Regions from separate parts of the Homo sapiens genome. Here all the other regions are linked to region 1. The links are contacts of gene promoters, found by promoter capture Hi-C in blood cells and fetal thymus (Javierre and others, 2016). All regions are on one chromosome and are shown on one strand. Each heading gives the region's core, a stretch centred on a gene start or on the middle of the fragment in contact. The rest is flanking DNA. Distances are from core to core; before and after follow the strand shown.

Evidence for each region. The method cuts DNA at HindIII sites, captures the fragments that hold promoters and counts their contacts. A CHiCAGO score of 5 or more calls a contact.
Region 2: a fragment that was not itself captured here is called in contact with the fragment with the promoter of ZSCAN25 in region 1 in 2 of 17 cell types (erythroblasts and M1 macrophages); the score reaches 10.5 in erythroblasts.
Region 3: a fragment that was not itself captured here is called in contact with the fragment with the promoter of ZSCAN25 in region 1 in 2 of 17 cell types (erythroblasts and M1 macrophages); the score reaches 6.8 in erythroblasts.
Region 4: a fragment that was not itself captured here is called in contact with the fragment with the promoter of ZSCAN25 in region 1 in 1 of 17 cell types (erythroblasts); the score reaches 5.6 in erythroblasts.

Annotation. Positions count from the first base shown.
Region 1 is chr7:99,614,412-99,619,558 of GRCh38, forward strand. ZSCAN25 (zinc finger and SCAN domain containing 25) reads left to right here and starts at 2,535. Exons shown (of 8, transcript NM_145115.3): 1 at 2,535-2,605; 2 at 4,114-4,240; 3 at 4,637-4,721. RefSeq lists enhancers at 1,681-2,660, 2,251-2,570. The HindIII fragment of the contact is 2,601 bases long and covers 1,047-3,647 here.
Region 2 is chr7:99,854,273-99,859,419 of GRCh38, forward strand. CYP3A43 (cytochrome P450 family 3 subfamily A member 43) reads left to right here. Exons shown (of 13, transcript NM_057095.3): 8 at 1,319-1,446; 9 at 2,561-2,627. Among named protein-coding and RNA genes, the nearest start is that of OR2AE1, 20 kb to the right of the region's middle. The HindIII fragment of the contact is 2,475 bases long and covers 1,699-4,173 here.
Region 3 is chr7:99,815,373-99,820,519 of GRCh38, forward strand. It overlaps the pseudogene CYP3A137P. Among named protein-coding and RNA genes, the nearest start is that of CYP3A43, 10 kb to the right of the region's middle. The HindIII fragment of the contact is 4,358 bases long and covers 955-5,147 here.
Region 4 is chr7:99,776,242-99,781,388 of GRCh38, forward strand. It overlaps CYP3A4 (cytochrome P450 family 3 subfamily A member 4), which reads right to left. Exons shown (of 13, transcript NM_017460.6): 2 at 3,751-3,844; 3 at 1,787-1,839. Among named protein-coding and RNA genes, the nearest start is that of CYP3A4, 5.4 kb to the right of the region's middle. The HindIII fragment of the contact is 1,853 bases long and covers 1,956-3,808 here.

The DNA of each region.
Region 1 (5,147 bases), core at 1,285-3,784:
ATGAATTATAAGATAACATCAAAGTAAAGAATAATACCTAGAGAAATCATCTTGCAGAGATTTGATTTTTTAAAACTATGCCTAAAGTTTACTCAAGGAAGAGCATCTGATAAGAGAGCTTTCCCCCCATAAACCAAGGACTGCAAAAGTGTGGATTATCAGAAGAGATCCGGTACATTCAGGGTGGTATGGCCATAGACAAGGGCTGGGTTATCAATGTAAGGGTGAGAGATAAGTCTCCTCTCCCGTACCCCTACCACCAGGAGCCAGCAAGGCAATTTGTCTTAGTGCCACGCTGGACAACCACAAAACCACAAAGATTTGTGGTTGAGAAGTTGCAACCACAAATCACCCCTCAATATTTGCAGCCCAAATTCATATTACTATTATAGCATGGTTCAAAAATCCTCAAATTATAAATTTGGTTTACAATGACCTTGGACTGGTGATGCTGACAAGAAAAAAATTTACATGGAAGAAAAACAATATCAACCCTCTCTAGATAAATTCACTTTATCCTGGAACTCAAAGAAATTTCACAAAAATGTTTCCAAGGAAAATGAGCAGCCTGTCACACAAGGAAACAAGGTACTGTGGTATGTTCGAGGAAGGTATGTTTGAGGAATGCCCCCAATTAATGTCCTGGGGACATTATTTAATGCTCTAGGGACATTATATAATGTCCCCAGAACTCATAAATCAATAAGAAAGAGATAAACAGCTTAATAGAAACACAAAGAAAAGTCCGTTCACAGAAAAGGGAAGGCAAGAAGTTAATGAAAGTAGGAATAATGACTGACCTCACTTATAATGAAGAACATGCAAATTAAAAAATGAGGTAACATTTACTTCACCTGTCAATTGGCAAAAATTAAAGCTGGATAATGGCAGAGATGATGAGATATGGGAAATGGATGCTGTTAGGTACTGCTGGTGGAAGTGGCACCATCAAAAACAGTGGAAATAGCAGATCACAGAAAGATATCTGAGGGGACTTCAGATCTCAGAATTATCAGGCTCAACTATATTTACTATGTACAAAGAAAAGCTTAAACATATCGGTAAATTCTTTTAAAAGATCGATCTAGAATATTTGGAAAAAATCAAATAGAAATTCTAGAAATGGAAAAAATATATTAATTAAAACAAAAATATGGGTGGCCAAGTGGGGAGGATTGCTCGAGCCCAGGAGTTTAAGACTAGCCTGGGCAACATAGTGAGACCCTGTCCTTACAAAACATTTTTTAAAGATTAGCTGGGTGTGGTGGCTCATGCCTGTAGTCCCAGCTATTTGGGAAGCTGAGGTGGATTGCTTGAACCCAGGAGTTGGAAGCTGTAGTGAGCTATGATAGCACCGCTGTACTCCAGCCTAGGTGACACAGCAAGACCTCGTCTCTTAAAAAACAAAACAAAACAAAACAAAAAAACAACAACTGTGGATTTTGTAGCACATTAGAAACAGCTGAAAAGTGGATTATTAATAAAAAGGTGAAGACATAAACCCAAGTCAAATATGGGCAGACAAGAAAAATATGAAAGTGGGACAGAGACATGGAGGATAAAGTGAGATGGTCTAACACCTATGTTATATTCTAGGAGTTCATTTACTCTATAAGTGTATATTTTTAGCAAATATTGTACCAGACACTTTGCAAAGTGCTGGAGAAGAGTAAGACAAGAGGGTTTCCTGTTTCCTGAGTGGATTCTGGAGTAACACTGGGCCACCCAGTTGAGACAGACTGCCTTCAGGCTGGACGCGGTGGCTTGCGCCTGCAGTCCTAGCACTTTGGGAGGCCAAGGGGGGAAGATCGCTTGAGTCCAGAAGTTGGAGACCAGATTGGGCAACATAGAGAGATCCCCCTCTCTGCAAAAAATTGAAAAAAAGTCCCAGCTACCCAGGAGACTGAGGTGGGAGGATTGCTTGAACTCAGGGCTTCGAGGTTGCAGTGAGCTATGATCTCACCACTGCACTCCATCCTGGGAGACAGAACAAGACTTCTCTCTCTCTTTCTCAAAAAACACAAACAAACAAACAAACAAAAACCCCCCACAAAAAACAGCTCCGATGCTGGCTCCTCCAGGAAGCCTTCCCTGACTACACATACACACACGCACGCACACTACCCGGGGTCAGGAGCCTCTTAAGTGAGCCGGTTAGATCCAGTGCGCCCCCTATCTCCTCTGCCCCTACGCCTCGCGCAAGGCCCTCGCAGCCGGAATAGTCGCGCATTGACCGACTGGACTCTAAAGCCCCTTGGGGCAGGTGCTGTGTCCAGTAGTGTATCTGGCGATGCACCGAGTCCTTTCCACGGAGGGCAAGCAGGTGAAATGGCACGGAAGTGGAAGGGGCCTAGCCACAGAGCGCCTCGAGCTGGGCAGTCAATCCTGGGGAAGCCCTGGTGGTCTTCGCCTCGCCGGGTTCGGAACAGCAGGCTGGGATCAGCAACCATCGAGACGCATCCGCCGAGACCTCCGAGCATCCTAGAGAGGACACGGAAGCGAGTCTTTCCTTACGCACCTGTCTAACAGCGTCCGCAGCTCACTTCCGGACCGCGGATAGCACTGGCGACCCTAGCGGGTGAGAGGCCCTTCAGGGCCGCGGCGGGTGAGAGCCTCTTCAGGGCCGCAGCGGGTGGCGGGCGAAGTGGTAAACGGGCGCGGGGACGGGTTTTGGTGCCGCTACGGGGCTCGGCGGCAGCGGGGTTGCAGTAGAGCCCGTCTCCCTCCGCTCAGCCCCGGCTGAGGGCGGCAAGTCTCTCAGGAGCTGCCTTCAGCGGCCCCGAGGCCCTGCGGGTCTGGACGCTGAGGGGCCGCCGCGCTGTAGGCTCAGGTAGGAGCGAGGCTGATCCCGCTCTGCCAGGCTTGGCTTAGTGCAGGGCTGGCCACGAACCCGAAGAGATCTTGAACCAAAGCAGAACTCTGTGCAAAGTGAAAGTAATCACATAGGACACTTATTTAAAGAATAGTGATGAGCCAGCCTGGTCAACATAGCGAGACCCTGTCTCTACAAAAATTGAAAAGTAGCCGGGCGTGGTGGCACGCGCCTGAGGTCCCAGCTACTCGGGAGGCTGAGGCAGGAGGATCGCCTGAGCCCAGGAGTTCAAGGTTGCACTGACTTACATTCATGCCGCTGCACTCCAGCCTGGGCAACATGGGGAGACCCTGTCTCTACAAAAATAAATAATTAGCTGGTCATGGTGGCACTCGCCAGTAGTCCCAGCTACTCGGGAGGCTGAGGTGGGAGGATCGCTTGATCCTAGGAGGCAAAGGCTGCAGTGATCGCACCACTGGTCTCCAGCTGGGGTGATAAAACCCTGAGATCCTGTCTCAGAAACAAAACAAAAGAGTCACAATGGGTGGGGGGAGATAAAGAATAGCAATGGGGCAATTTCTATTTGTCAAATGGCAGAGATAAAAGATGAATGAGGATCTTTCTTGCCTCCAGGGAATCTGTTAGAGGGAGACACATGGGTAAACATTTGCACTGTAGTGCATTAAATGCACTAGTGGAGTGAACCAATGCAATAGCTAGAAAGGAATGAAAGAGAAATCTCAATGTTGCAGAGTCAATGAATAGACTGAAAATATAAACTTGGTTTAAGTGGGGGTAGATAAATACACAAACTCACAATAGAATATTTAGCAGAAGCTTTGGGGTGTGCCTCCTGCCAGCTGCCCATTCTCTGCTCCAGTCAGGTGATCTTTCCGTTTTCTGACAAGCAGGATCTCCTTCCCCTGGTGCTTTGGACTTCCAAGTCTGTCTTCCCAGTCTAGGTCTTCCGCATAATCCACTTGGAGGTAAATAGGACTCATTCTCCAGTCTACTTCAAGCCTCTTCTTTTCCTTGAGTACTTGGACTTAGATTAGTTTTCTCTCTTTTTGACTTCACATTTTTTTTTCAATCTGTACCATGTATTTTGGGAGGCAGTTATCATCTAGTCTCTTTTTTTTCTTCTGAGAAGTAGGAGGAGTAGCACTCATCCTACAGAAGTGTTTTAAGTATTAGATGAAATATGTGTTCACATGCTTTCTAAAGAGTAAAGCCTGTACAAGTTAGAAATCTTTAGGTCATTTGTCATAATGGTATATATGTTGCTCCATTGTCTTTTTCAGGTTGAGCGCACCATCACATCTAAGCCATCAGCAAGTTTGTTGGTTTTAATCTCCAAAATACGTCTTGATTTTGTCTGACTCTTTGCCACCACCCTGATCTAAGCCCTTATCATCTGCTTGAATCACTGTAAGTGCCATTTCCCTCTTGCCACCTCTAGCCTATTCCCTGTCAACACACAGGCAGAATGACTTTTATAAAACATGTAGTTCCTCGCTAAAGTAAGAAATAAGAATAAAGTTCATAATTCTTTCTGTGGCGCAGGCTCTGGGTGATCTGGTTTCTGTCTGCCTCTGCCACCTCTTCTGGTGCAGCTCTGCTCGTCACTGCTGAAGCCACACTGGGATATGGCTTGTTCTTGGACACCCAGAGTAATTTCTTAGCCTCAGGGCTTTTGCCTGGAATGCTCTTAGAATGACTGACTCATTCTCATCCTTGAGTCAGCCTGGTATCATGTCTTTAGAAAAGCCTTCTTCAAGTCAGTTGCCCCCTGTTAACAGAGCACCCTACTTATTTTCTTTCTAGAACTTGTCTCCACTTGCAGTTTTTAAAAGAGTTGCTTCCATTTGACTTTTTCTGTCTGCTGTACCAGCATATGAGTTTCAGGAGGGTAAGCTCCCAGTGTGTCTTGTTTTCTATTTTATTTGTTGTTTCTGCCTGCCTCTTGTGTGTGTATATGTGTGTGTTTGTGTGTTGCATGTATGTTTCCTTTAGTATTGGAAGAGTAGGCCCTGGTGACTCACCCAGTTATAACCCATTATATATTATTCTCTGATTGTAGTGTTATTCTCCAGTGAGATCCTAAGTTATTTGTGGGTATAAAAGCAAAATCTTAGACATTTTCTGTTTAGTCTCTGTACCTAATAGTTGCTTAGCAAATGATTACTATGTTGAATTGACCTGACTTTTGGGATCTGTGTTCAGTCTTTTGAAAATGCCTTGTAAAAGGTAATTACTGTGTTCTCCAGTGGAATATTCCTTGATGTAGAGACAGAACTGGGATGGGCTGACCTTTCATGTGTCTCTTGTTCTCAAA
Region 2 (5,147 bases), core at 1,686-4,185, 240 kb after region 1:
CTAGGCTCACTGAAACCTCTGCCTCCCGGGTTTAAGCAATTCTCCTTTCTCACCCTCCTGAGTAGCTGGGATTACAAGTGTCCACCACCATGCCCAGCTAACTTTTGCATTTTTAGTAGGGACGGGGTTTTGCCATGTTGGTCAGGCTGGTCTAACTCCTCACCTCAGGTGATCCACCCGCCTCAGCCTCCCAAAGTGCTAGGATTACAGGCGTGAGCCACCGCGCCCGGCTGATGATATTTTCAAGGAACCAATTTTTGGTTTTCTTTATTGCTTTTAAATCTGTATTTCATTAGGTTACACTTTAGTTTTTATTATTTTCCCCCTTTCTGCTGGCTTTAGTTTTACTTTGCTCTTCATTTTTCAGTGTGTTATGGTATACATTTAGGTTATTGATTTGAGATTATCTGACATTCACAACTATAAATTTCCCTCTGAACATTGCTTTGGCTACATCCCATACGCTTTGGCATATCATGTCTTCATTTTTCTTCATCTCAAAACAATTTCTAATTGTCCTTTTGCTTTCTACTTCAGCTCATTGGTTACTTAAAAGTGTATTGTTTAACTTCCACATATTTGTGAGTTTTCCAATTCTCTTTTCTCTCTCTCTCTTTTTTTTTTTCTTTCGAGAGACATTTTCATTCTGTCACTCAGGCTGGAGTACAGTGGCACAATCTCAGCTCACTGCAACTTGCGCCTCCCTGGTTCAAGCGATTCTCATGACTGGGTCCCAAGTAGCTGGGACTACAGGCACATGCCACCATGCCCGGCTAATTTTTGTATCAGTAGAGATGGGGTTCCGCCATGTTGGTCAGGCTGGTCTCAAACTCCTGACCTCAAGCAATCTGCCTGCCTCAGCCTCCCTAAGTGCAATTCTCTTGCTTTTATTGATTTCTAGTTTCATTCCATGGTAGTTGAAGGACATTTGCCGTATTGTTTCTATCCTGACTACTATTTCATGGAAAAACATGATTCATTAAAGCAGCAGGCTATCCAAAGAGACTCTAGTCCAGTAGATAAAGGCTAAGAAGTCAGGGAATTTAATTCTGTTCCTTTGGTCACTCTGAAGATGCAGAAGGGACCACTGATCTCACTGCTATAGTGGAGGCCCCTATGTGTGGATCTGCTCTTGCTCAGCCATTGGCATGGAAGAGGGGCAAAGGTCATACAGGAAGAGGGGCAAAGGTCATACAGGAAATGGATCCTGGTTGAGAACCCTGAAGTCTATAGGTAGAGAAAATTGTAATTGTTGTAGGTAAATTTCACATTTTTCACTATGATTTATTTTTTCTTTTTCTATTTAATTTTCCTATAGCACTCTTTCCATTTCTTACCCCAGTTTTTGAAGCCCTAAATATCGGTTTGTTTCCAAAAGATGTTACCCATTTTTTAAAAAATTCCATTGAAAGGATGAAAGAAAGTCGCCTCAAAGATAAACAAAAGGTAAAATCTGGTGGTGGTGACATGAGAATGTTCACTTTTTTATTATATTTTTGGGCTGTTTACATACGATTTGTGCACTTATCTGTGTTTTTTAAAGGCAGCTAGAGAACTTTAGACCAAGAGGGTTTTTACATTTTGCTGGGAATAAAGAAGGTGAAGCTTGGGGAAGAAAGAGAATGAGTGAAACAGCATTTGGAATTTAATAATAGGCATGACTTTAGTATATTATGGCATAAATAATGTAGAGATAGAAGCTTTACCGCTTCTCTTCCTTTCAGTAAATTGTCAATAAATTTGACTGTATAAAGTTGCCAATAAATCTGACTGGATAAAAATGACTGATAAAATTATTTTATGGGTATTACAATTTCCCTAGTTCTTATATTAGTAAGGAATCATTTCAAGTCCAAGCCTGTTATTTTTACACCTTCTTCAGCAGGAGTCCCTACCAGGCTACCTGCAGAAGTAAGTGTATGTTAAATTTCAGTCCTGTCATAGCCTGGACTGGGCAGGGGTCTTCTCTGGGCATTGTGGGTGCAAGCTGACTGATCCAACTTTGCCTTTATGAGCCCTGGAGACCAGCCCGATGATGATGCCTCAAAGTCAGGAATGCAGGACTGGGTCCCCTAGGTGACACTGAACGTTGTATAGAGTTCTAGGAGTGGGGAGTATTTGAAGATGCATTCAAATCAGCTCCCCTGGGATTATCCAGAGATTAATCTATTTGTCCATTGGTTAAGAATAAAAGCAGCAGAACAAATAGGATTGAAATTCAGGACTTCTTCCTGTTCAAGAAATTATGACTAGAGAATGAGCTGACAACTCTTTGGCCAGGAAGTTGTGTCCAAAGGCCAGAGAAGCTGAGGATCAGGGAGAGCAAAGACTAAAAAGCAGATAGACATGACAAAAGGATTTCTCTCAAGGAAACATCCTGCTCTCCAAGGTTTTAGATGCATGATTTTATTCTAAACATTGGTGACTCAGGCAACACCCATTACACTTCTGAACTTAAAGAGAGCATATTCTCAGGAGGGGTGCTTAGGACTGGACTCCTGATTCACTTCTGACTTCACAAGTGACTTTCTGTCATTAAAATTTCTCTTTTTGCTTCCAGCATCGAGTAGATTTCTTTCAACAGATGATCGACTCCCAGAATTCCAAAGAAACAAAGTCCCATAAAGGTAACCAAGAACTGCATCTGGGGGCTACTGATGGGGACACTCAGAGAGAAGGCCCTGTTCTGAAAATGTGCAGAAAGTTTTCCAGGAAAATGAGAATTTCTTCCACATTGCAGAAAGGCACACATTTGGATGTTATAAATGATAGCTGGAGGCACTTTCTAGAAGCACACAGGCATAGCCACATTCCAGGCTTGAAGGGCAACCCTGAACAAGTGTGGCACTCCCGGAGGTCGGTCAGTGATCTGTGGATCACCCACATCAGATAAAATGCCAGTTCTCAGCCTCCTCCAGATCCACTTACTCAGAACTTGGAAACGTACATCTAACATCCAATCAGGAGACACACTGTCCAAATAAGGGTGATTTTAACTGGAAACACTTGGTGAAAGTGTGTTCACAAGGTTAATCTACTGACGGGTTTTATTTTTCCCTATATAATGGAAAAGTAACTGTGAGAAAACCTTTAAGACTGTGTAATGTCCTTTTCCTCTTCAATTTTTCACCTACTAGTTTTACCACCCATGGATGGTTTTGACTGAAACCATCATTACTATGATGGTCGCAAAATAATGACCATGATCGATTTCAAGCCATCAAAGTTTGACAACCATATGACATAATTGTGAATATTAACAATTAATTCTAAAGAGCAGGAAGTGGAGGCTGGGCATGGTGGCTCACGTCTGTAATCTCAGCACTTTGGGAGGCCGAGGCAGGTGGATCACCTAGGGTCAGGAGTTCGAGACCAGCCTGGCCAACATGGCGAAACCCTGTCTCTACTAAAAATACAAAAACTAGCCGGGTGTGGTGGCGCACACCTGTAATCCCAGCTATTTGGGAGGCTGAGGTGGGAGAATCACTTGAACCAGGGAGGCGGAGGTTGCAGTGAGCCAAGATCACACTACTGCACTCCAGCCTGGGCAACAGAGTGAGACTCCATCTCAAAAATAATACTAAATAAATAAAATAAGTAAAAATAAAGAGCAGGAAATGTTTAACTCAAACACACCATTGTAAATATATCTATGTCTTCATCTACTTGTCTATCTATGTGTCATCTATCATCTGTCCATCTGTCCCAGTGCAACTTTTTGTGAAAAGGGAAACAGTCTATCGTTTTGTTGCTCAATACAGACATCACTAGATACATGGCTATTGAGTACTGAACATGTAGCTGCTGCCAATGAAGAATAATTTTTAAGTATATCTAATTTTAATTAATTAAATTTAAGTAGCCACCTGTGGCTAGTGCCTACCCTACTGGGTAGCAGATCTACACTTTGAGATTATGATTTCATTTCAATTCCATGTCCTGGGGTTCATGCCAACTGAATAAAATAATTGGAAAGTTGAATTTACCCACAACATCATCATGAAAATTATCACCAGTAAATCACAACTCTGTAGACCTTTCTCACACTCATCTTGTATTGTTTTCAGTTATGAAATACATGGTTGGAGTGGGCACCATATTTATTTTAGTACCCTAGGTCTCTAAAGTTCTTAATCCAGTCCTGATCAAACAGACCAATGGCTGACTGTGCTAAGCTTTTCTTGGGAGAAATATCAAGAGGGAGGCAAACCTGTAGTCATAAATGCTGTTCGGTGAGCATGAAGTGGAGCAGAGAGAATGGGCATGTACTAAGGAAGATGCTATTCGGGCCAGGATGGAATAGGCACTATGAATTCCACTCACTAGACCCTATTGTTTTTATATTTCATGTTGGCCAATGCCCATCTATACATGCATTCTTCCTGCTGTATTATTATTATTATTATTATTATTATTATTATTATTATTATTATTATTTGAGATGGAGTCTCACTCTGTCACCCAGGCTGGAGTGAAGTGGTCTGATCTTGGCTCACTGCAACCTCTGCCTCCCAGGTTCAAGCAATTCTCCTGCCTCAGCCTCCCGAGTAGCTGGGACTACAGGTGCCCACCACCACACCCAGTTGTGGGTTTTTTTGTAATTTTAGTAGAGATGGGGTTTCACCATGTTGGCCAGGCTGGTCTCAAAATCCTGACCTCAATGATCCTCCTGTGTCAGCCTCCCAAAGTGCTGGGATTACACGCTTGCACCACTGTGCCCAGCCTGTTTTATTAAAACCACTCATTGGACTACAGTCAATCACCTCACTTCTAGATTTTTGTCTCTGTAGCTTTCGTATATCCAGAGGTCATCCATTTTGAAGACTAGTGCCCTAGGAACTCTATTACTTGATGTCACTCAAAGATGTAATCCATGCTTCTCAAGCCATGCTGGGCTCACAAATTACCACATCTCATGAAAGTTCAGATTTTGATTCTGCAGTTTGAGGGTAGGGTTTGAGATTCTGCATTTCTGATAAGCTCCCAGATGCTGCTGGTGCTGCTGGTCCATGGACCACATTTTGAGTGGCAAGAGCCCAATATTCTTCCCTTGGGTTCCCGCAAACATGCTTAGAGAAAAGTTCCTTTATATTTCCCTAAAATCAAGCCTTAGTATTGCAAACTGTCTCATTGTTTGTCAAGCTATA
Region 3 (5,147 bases), core at 1,884-4,383, 200 kb after region 1:
GCTGTTCATTGTGATCACCTGGGAGTTTTAAATATTCACGATGCTTGTGTCATCTCAGAGATTCTAAAATACTTTCCCCACAGTGTTGCTTTAAACATCCTCTCCATTGCTTCTCATGTGAAACCAAATTTGAGAATCACTAAATCAAGACATTTCTTCCAGAGTAGAAAATCTCCCAGAGGTCAGGGTCATCCTGACTGTTAGAACTCACCTTCCAGGACCCTTCCTGCTGACAAGCCAAGCTAGTTCTCAACCCAACAATAATTCTATGAATGTTCTTCCCTCTCTCTTTCTTATCCTCTCCCCATCCTTCATGTCCTGGTTCAATCCCCAACCTCCTCCGAAAAGCCCTTCCATCTAGTCCAGGGCCCATTCAGTCCTCTGCTTTGTTATTCATTACTGCAGGCTGTTATCATCACCTGATTTCATATTTGTCACTAAATCATTCATGTTTGTTTACTAAGTTCTCTCTATATCTAAGAATGTCTGTCCTCAGCCCCTTAAAAAATATCACTTCATTTTATTTCTTTCATAAAATTCAAATAGCACTTTGCAGGGGACATTTCCATGGCAAGCATTCAGTAAATGTTCAAGGAGTGATTTGCAGTTGAATTGGGGTTCCTGGCCACAAATTTTAAGGTATTTAATTTTTAATTTTAATCTGACATTTATGTATGTGTGGGTGTTTGTGGGTGTGTTTGTCTGTCTCTTAGAAAAATACATTCATGTCACTTTAAAATTAAAAATAACATGGTGTTACCTTTATAGAAAAGTTGGGATCTTTTCCCTGATGAACTTAAAGACAGTTGTCATTGATTGATGTCAAACAAGACCTTCTAAGTCTTATTTCTAGGATTCATGCATTCAATATGCAACTCCTTCTCTGAAGCAGGATTTCTGCATGGGAATGGAGGAGGGTAGAGATGGTTTTCATCCTATTTGTGGCTTAATGGAAGCTTTGTAGCCAATCTGTGCATCTGTACAAATAGGGGGCTCAGTGCGGGAGAAAGCAGGCTTGTGGCACATTTGGGAAGGGGAAGATAGTCCCTAGCCCAGCTCCCAGGCATCTACAGGCTGATGTTTCTCAGTCTCTATAGCAATTTGCTTGCCCTCCACTCAACTGAGATTGGAAGTTACAGTGTTGCTGACTTGATAAGAGTGAGGCTAAAACTATGGTCAAAATGCTGTAGGACTTGAGAAGTTCCCCATTTGCACTGCTCTTTGTAGCCAAGATGAGATGTTAAAAGCAAAAGCACAGGCCAGGCGCGGTGGCTCATGCCTGTAATCCCAGCACTTTGGGAGGCCGAGGCAGGCTGATCACTGAGGCCAGGAGTTCAAGACCAGCCTGGCCAACATGGTGAAACTCCGTCTCTACTAAAAATACAAAAATTAGCTGGGCTCAGTAGTGCCCACCTGTAATCCCAGCTACGGGGGAGGCTGAGGCAGGAGAAGTGCTTCAACTCAGGAGGCGGAGGTTGCGATGAGCCGAGATCACTTCACTGCACTCCAGCTCAGGGCCCACAGAGCAAGACTCTGTTTCAATAAATAAATAAATAAATAAAGTCTCCTGAAGCCCTCTTCCCATCATTTCATAGGATGGGTTTAATTAGGAGGGGTTACTGGACTTTTCAGAAGTCAATGGCTGCTTGTATAATTAAAATGTATAATATCTACTCAAGATTTTTTTTTTTTTTTAGACAGAGTCTTGCTCTGTCGCCCAGGCTGGAGTGCAGTGGCAAGATCTCGGCTCACTGCAAGCTCCGCCTCCCAGGTTCACGCCATCCTCCTGCCTCAGCCTCCCAAGTAGCTGGGACTACAGGCACACGCCGCCATGCCCGGCTAATTTTTTGTATTTTTAGTAGAGACGGGGTTTCACTGTGTTAGCCAGGATGGTCTCGATCTCCTGACCTTGTGATCCGCTGGTCTTGGCCTCCCAAAGTGCTGGCATTACAGGCATAAGCAACCACGTCCAGCCTACTCAAGATTATTTTGCAAGTTTTAACATATACAAATTTAATTGTATATGGCTTTTCAAAAATAGTTTACCATACTGCTTGAGAATCTAGATTTAATATTTAAAAGTCATCCTTTTTACTAAGAATTTCTATCAAGATCAGGCTCAGTGGTTGATGTCTGTATTCCCAGTAATTTGGGAGGCTGAGAGAGAAGGATTGCTTGAGCCCGCACTTTGAGACCAGCCTAGGCATTATAGCAAGACCCCATATCTACAACAACAAATAAAGTCTGGACATGTTGATGCATGCCTGTAGTTCCAGCTACTCGAGAGGCTAGGGCAGGAGGATCACTTGAGCCCAGGAGTTTAGGGCTGTATTTCTGCTGACTTTTAAGAATGTCGAGGATTTACTTGTCACATAATTCATAATTCCTCAGGGCAAGGAGACATGGAACGTGGGTCAGTGATGATAATGAGCCAGTGCCATTTCCAAAGGCTCAGCTTTGGGATCTCTTCCAGCAAGCAGGCATAGAGGGGCTCTCAGATGACAGCATTGCTGTCGCAGGCCTCATCCTTACCAGCTCCTGGGGTAAATATTTCACTCTTCAGAAAGCAGGATGTGTCTGTTCTGACCCCTACTACCCCAAAGAAGAAGCTCAAATCATCTTATTGGAGTCCTTGATGTTGTATGTGCTGCTTGTAGTGACATCAGCCACATCCCTGGTGGCTAAGGTGGCTGGAGTCCACCTGGCAATCCAGGTAGCTGTTCTCCTCTTCTCTCCTTTCACACCCATTGTTCCCAGACATGCATTATTTCCAGAGAGAGGGGCATTCTTTGGTCAGGAGCATCTCTAGCTTTCCGTCTTCTGCAGAACCATTTGAGGGGGTGCACAGGAAGCAGCACAGTATGCTGCTTCTCACTGAAGCCGTCATCTTCATCTCCTTCCCTGTGTCTCCATTACAGGCCCTCTTGACAACAGAATCCTGGTGGATCATTCTGAATGTACAGGAATGGCAGCTGAGGCCCAGCCAAAAGCTCTTGCTGTATGCAGGAAAGTGGCTTGGTCACCAGAGTCCTAGGGAAAGAGTCCCAGGAAAAGTTTTGCAATATGCAGCAATCTAACCCAACTAAACTCAACAAATCTTTCTGGATGCCCACTCTGTGTAAAGGACTCAGCTAGGGCCTGCAGACATAGTGGTGAATAATACTCAGACTGTCCTTAAGAAGCTCATGCTCTGGTAAGGGATCACCACTGCTCATGTGTGGAAACCAACACGGTGCTGGAGAGGAGGAAAGACAATAATAGAACCATGGGAGGGGGGAAAGAAGTTGCCCAGAGGAGGAAGCAGTCATGTCTGATTCCTAAATCAGAGAAAGCCTCTAATAGGAGAGGTCTGGGCTTGGTGCAGTGGCTCACCCCTATAATCCCAGCACTTTGAGAGTCCAATGCCAGAGGATCACTTCAAGCCAGGAATTCGAGACCAGCCTCGGAAACATAGACACACAGTCTCTACAAAAATAAAAATAAAAAAATAAAATTAGCTAGGTGTGCTGATGCATACCTGTATCCTCAGCTACTCCAGAGACTAAGGCAGGAGGATCGCTTGAGCCTGGGAGTTTGAGGTTACAGTGAGCTATGATTGTGCCACTGCACTCTAGCCTAGGCAACAGAGTGAGAGTGTGTCTCAAAAAAATAAATAAAACAAATTATTATATGGGTATTGATGTGGTTTGGATTTGTGACCCCACCCAAATCTCATGTCAAATTGTAATCCTCAATGTTGGAGGAGGGGTCTGGTGGGAGGTGATTGGGTGTCATGGGGTCAGACTTATCCCTTGCTGTTCTCATGATAGTGAGTGAATTCTCATGAGATCTGGTTGTTTAAAAGTGTGTAGCAGCTCCCTCTTCTCTCTCTCCCTCCTCCTTCTCTGGTCAATATAAGATGTGCCTTCGCACCATGATTGTAAGTTTCCTGAGACCTCCCCAGTCATGCTTCCTGTATAGCCTGCAGAATCGTGAACCAATTAAACCTGTTTTCTTTATAAACTACCCAGACTCAGGTACTTCTTTATAGCAATGCATGTACAGGCTAACATAGGTATATTGCGTGGGAAAAAAAGAAACATAAATGAATAAAAACTTAAAAAGAAGTCTATCTGATCTGGGTTTGAAAGGATGAATAGTAGTCTTCTAGGGAGTATAGAGAAATTCTAGGCAGTGGAAACTTCCTGGATAAAGATGTGTATGTGTGCATTATTTTGATGGATTTGAAGTATTTTGGATTGAAGGCAGCCATGAAGATAAGGGCTGGTTAGAGATTGAATGCCAATGACTTCACAAGAGTTTCTGATAAGAATCTATAACTCTTGGGGCTTATCAAACACTGATTAGTTTACTGATATCACACAATATAAAGTCAAAGGAGGTCAAAATAAGGGTGGCCATAATTCTTCACCAACTGTGAATGTGAGAAGAGCACCCCAATCCCTCCACATGAGGAGCAGCATAGGTAGCTTTTCTACTGGCTGCAGCTATGGACCCAACTCATTCCCCAGCACATAAATATTCCTGTTAACCTTAACTAAATCACCTCTGGGCAGAGAAAGAAAGCTCTACATGCACAGCCCAGCCAAAAGCGGCACACAGCTGAAAGAAAAACTCAGAAGATAGATTTGAAAAAGAAAATGCGATGGATCTCATTCCAAACTTTGCCATGGAAATGTGTGTTCTCCTGGCTACCAGCCTGGTGCTCCTCTACCTGTGAATAACTGTCCAGGCCATCTGCTCTGTAACTTTAGACTTTTAGTGCTAATCAGGCCTATTTTTCTTATTTGTTTTGAAGATGAAAGACATAATGGAGGGGAAGTTGCTTAAGCATTGAATGCTACAAACATAAATTATCATTACTGATCTGTTGGGGCTCAGAAGAAAACACTTGAAAATAGGACACTGTGGCAAGCTGAGTACTTTGAACTAAAGGGGACTGGAGGATCTCAGAAATGGCCTCAGAACTAAGGTCTCTCTGACCTTCTCCTGCCTCCCATACTTTCCCTCCAAAAGTGCAGAGAGGGGCTTTCTCTGAAGTTCCTTTATCTGACTAAGGAAAGACCTGCCAGAAAGAATGCAATTGTCTTTAGCACCTCCAAATAATATCAACAAACAGAATATTAACTTACAGGAAAGAAGTAGAA
Region 4 (5,147 bases), core at 1,632-4,131, 160 kb after region 1:
GGTGGGAGTGTAAATTAGTTCAACCATTGTGGAAGACAGTGTGGTGATTCCTCAAGGATCTAGAACTAGAAATACCATTTGACCCAGCAATCCCATTACTGGGCATATACCCAAAGCATAAATCATTCTATGATAAAGACACATGCACACATATGTTTATTGCAGAACTATTCACAATACCAAAGACTTGGAACCAACCCAAATGTCCATCAGTGACAGACTGGATAAAGAAAATGTGCCACGTATACCCCATGGAATACTATGCAGCCATAAAAAAACAATGAGTTCATGTCCTTTGCAGGGACAAGGATGAAGCTGGAAACCATCATTCTCAGCAAACTATCACAAGATCAGAAAACTCAACACCACATGTTCTCACTCCTAAGTAGGAGTTGAACAATGAGAACACATGGACACGGGGAGGGAAACATCACACACTGGGGCCTGTTGTTGGGTGGGGGGCTAGGGGAGAGATAGCATTAGGAGAAATACCTAATGTAGGTGACAGGTTGATGGGTGCAGCAAACCACCATGGCACGTGTATACCTATGTAACAAAACTACACATTCTATGCATGTAACCCAGAACTTAAAGTATAATTTAAAAAACTAAAAATAAAAAATAAAATAAAATCACAGTCCATCAGCCCGCCAGTGGTTAAGAATATTCAGCATTTCTTCAAATTCAGCAGGAAGGTATAGACAAAGAAATGCTTATATACCCTTCTATTAAAAAGTCTTGGCTTAAATTTAATAACAAAACAGAATGAAAAGTTCCACACTTGCAGATAAAATTAAAAAACAACAACAGCAGAGTATAAATGGTTTGCCAATCTATTTCTCTATTATCTCTCAACCCTTCATTCAAAAGCACTTTAAATCCAAAGTCTAAATGAAAGAGTTTTGGCTTTTAATTGAAAGTGAATTGATGTGGGAAGGAGATGATATGATGTATTTATGAGCACATATTAGAAGGGTCTGAGACAACACATGTAATAAAAGGGCACCTAAGGAAAAAAAAAAAGAAGAGGGGAATAGGCAGACACTGGACAGAGCATGATGCTGTGAGTCCCTGGGCCACCAAAGTCTGGAGAAAAGTAATCACAATGCTCCCAGCCTAGTTCAGACTGTAGAACTTGACACCTGGTGACACATGGGATCCTTGGTAGGACAACCTTCGAAAAGTTTTACAATAACCAGTGTGAATGTTGTTAGAACCAAAATGATGTCACTAGTTGTGTGTGTGTGTGTGTGTGTGTGTGTGTGTGTGTGTGTGTGTAAAAACCCTGACAAATAAATCAAAGAAGGCTATGAAGAGAGGATTCTCATGCTTGTGTGCCTGATAACAAAACTATCACAAAAGACTCCGCAAAACTACAAGCTTGCACAAAGGCCATCCCAACATTAAAAAAAATATTTCTGCAAGGACACCTGCCCAGCAACTGCCTGTCCAACCTTGGTGAGGCGTCACCCTTGTTACTGATCTTTGTAGCGAAGGATAATTATTTCAAAACTGATAAGAAATCCTCCTCATATTTTCCTTGGAGCCTCTTTGTCTTGCTTTACTTCCCTGAATTTGCACATAGTTTATAAAGGCATGCAGATTCCCATTGCAATACTCTACACCCAAATAAATATCTTCTTCTTTCAGAGAACTTCTCTCTGTTTGTAGTTAGGTTGACAAGAGCTTCATCCCAAGAGGCTTTGGGCTGAGACTGTCCTCTGTGCAGTGGGGTAAACTCATCATAGAAACAAGTCTATCCAATGGAAGTTTCCAGAATACTCACCCCCACACTTTTCCATACTTTTTATGACATTCCATGTCAAACATACAAAAGCCCTGGGAGGAGAAACAAAATAATATTTGATTATTATTTTTAATGTACTTAACCCTGCCTCTAATTGGGATGAAAACAGTCGAAGCCAATGAAATCAGACTTGCTGGCAGTTAGAGGAAGCTTATTTGGAGACGTCATAAAGGAAATAAGAGAAAACAGAGGAGGTATTTGAAAAGGGAAATTTAAAATCACTCTTGAATTCTCTCCAAGTGTTGTGGATACTGAATGACTTATCCTTGTGTATAAATACTAAGTACCTCTTTGTCTTTCTGATGTCTTTTTGCTTTTTCATGTGTTGTCTTGAAAATCTCATGAATCCCTGAATGATCACCTCCAGGGGCACATGGGGAAACTGAGGCCAAGGGAAAGTGAATTAGCATCAGAAGAGAATGCACAGTGTTTTATCTCTTTGTCATCCTTTTCATTTATTTCATGAGCTCGCTCTAGAGTTCTAGCAGAATTGGAAAGTTACAGACACCAGGGAACTCCTTTAGTCTAGCAGATTTAGGTAAGTATGAGGCATGTTGTTGAGTGAGAAAATGAACGAGTGACAGAATGACAAAGTGAACTCACTTTCCAGTTTTCCAGCTTAACATGGAAGTTCTGAGAAAATGTCCCCTCTACACATCGGACACAGCAAATTACAACACTTGCTCAGAGTTTTCACTGAAACTTAAAAACAAACCTTCCTGTATCGACATTTCAGGGGTGACATTTTAACTGTGCAAACAAAGGTCCCAGGAATGTGCATCTTGGGGGTACATCTACTAAAGAGTTGACCTGGAAAAGGTGGCGGGGAAATTATTGCTTTTGCACAGGGAAAAAATATGAAATTCCTGGATAGTAATTAGACAACAAAGCCCTCACCTGAGAGAATTAGAATCTGAGAAACAAGCCTCAGGTATGTGGGAAAGATGATGTAAGCCAAAGAGCTGACTGCTGCGGCTGGCCATGTGGACATGGGCTCCTAATTTTCCATCCAGGGCCCAGACCCTGGGCAGAGCATCAGACTAGGTTAGGCACAAAGGCTCGGCCAAAGTTCACGGTCCACGTGGCACATATTATATTCTATTCAGCAAAATTAAATATTTAATAATTTCATCAAATCATCCCCTTTCTAGTGATTTTGCATGTGATTCCGCCTTTGTGTAAAAAAAAAACCCCACAAACTCATTTTGTGCTTAAATATCTGAGTTTGATTGACCACCACTGTCTCATCTCAGTTATATCCAGTCTGTGATCAGACTCACCCATAAGGTGCAGCCTTTGAAGGAAAAGAAATAAAGCAGAACCCCTTTGTTCTGTCTCTCAAAGCTGCAAAAGATGTCATGGGGAGTAAGAGCTGGGGTAGAGCCATGGAGATACCCTCAGGGAATTTAGCATTTTTCGGAGAGGATTGAAGCAGGTGCAAATGACCCAAAGGTAAATACCTGGGCTCCCTAATAAATTGAGTTTCAAAGCTGTCCAGAAGGAAGGGAAAAAAGGCTACTCAAGAGCTCTTGCTACAGAGAGGAAAGTTTGACTCTCATGTACACAGATAACAAGTCACAATCAGGGGGTCCTTTTCCTACTTTTAATACTAACTAAGTATGACTGTACCTTCCTGGGAACCTGCATAGAGCAAAAAGAAAACCTTCTTTATGGCGCTCACAAAGTTTGCACATCAAGTTCTGAGCATCAGGTTGCTGATCTACCTGAGATTTGGGCTGTTCAACTGAGGCAAACCTGAGGTTCCTGAGAGTTAGCAAGAGAGCCCTTGGGTAAACATTGCCATGTTCTGGGTGATGCCTACACACTGTTTCTGAAAGTGTAAAACTTCAGACCTTCCCCCTGAGGAGAAGCATTTTTACTGATGGAACTAAGCTGCTCTTGGCAATCATAAGAAGCAAAAGAGTGAGCTCAAAAACACTCACCTTATGGTAGGACAAAATATTTCCCAAAAAAGGCAGAGGTGTGGGCCCTGGAATTCCAAGCTTCTTAAAAAGTCCATGTGAATGGGTTCCATATCTACAAAGTGAAACAGAAATCAAGTCACAGCGATTGTGACTTTATAGATATAGGGGTTGATGAGTCATTGACTGAGGAACTGGAATGCTCAAGAGAACGAGGTAACATTAAGGCAAGAAATAATAACAGTAACTCTGACGGCAATGATTATATTTGTTCATCAGGTCCTTTCCTGCCTCCACCATGAGACACCAAAAAGTTACAATGATTAGCTCAAAGCAGCTGAAGTCTTCATGGTCCCAGTCCTGGAATGAATATTTGATAAATGTTCTCAAATGTGAATGATCCTGAGAGGTTCAGGCAGGAATTCTTCCAGGTCACTTTGTTCCTTTACGTCTATTTAGTAAGTGGCCTCTCCCCAAATTTGGGGATTCTCATCCTAGGTAGAAAGGGTGACATTTTTTTGTCTTCCGCAGTGATGATGAGATTTTGCATCACTGCAGCCACTCAGTCACAGAGGGTCACTGAGAGCCTATGGTGACCCTGTCTTTAGAATTTGCTCAGAGGCTTTTATGCTTTCCCTTCCCTCTAAGCTCTGACCCTGTTTTAGGATCTGGTTCTTCTTAAACCGTCATTCACAGAGAGGTCTTGGAGGAGTCACAGAGTCCTTATTTCTACAGATTGACAACTGTGCTCAAGGCTTCCATTGACCTCATAGAAATGTGAGCAGCTTTCAGCTACACCTCAGTCTCTGTGATCAGATGATCTGGTTGATTTGACCTATTGGGAAGGATGATTGACTCATATTTCCCTGAATGACAGTGTGCAGAAGAATCACAACTAAAGAACCAATTTCCAGGTCATTCCTCCTCTTGTGGAATCTAGCCTTCCAACTGGTGATATTCATCTGATTAGCACAGTGCCAGTGATATGGTCTGAATCTGTGCCCCTACCAAAATCTCATGTTGAAATGCAATCCCCAATACTGGAGGTGGGGCCTGGTAGGAGATGATTGGATCCTAGGGGCAGTTTCTCATCGTTTCACACCATCCCGCCTTAGGTGTTGTCCTCGTGACAATGAGTTTTTATGAGATCTGGTGGTTTGAATGTGTGGCACCTTCTCCCCAGCCTCTCTTGCTTCTGCTCCAGCCATGTAAGATCTGTCTGCTTCTCCTTCACCTTCTGCCATGATTGTAAATTTCCTGAGACCTCCCTAGAGGAAGAAGTCACTATGCTTTCTGTACAGCCTGCAGAACCATGAGACAATTAAATCCCTTTTCTTTATAAATACCCAGACTCTGGTATTTCTTTATAACAATGCAAGAAAAGACTAACATAGCCAGACATGCTAATTTTTCTCAAG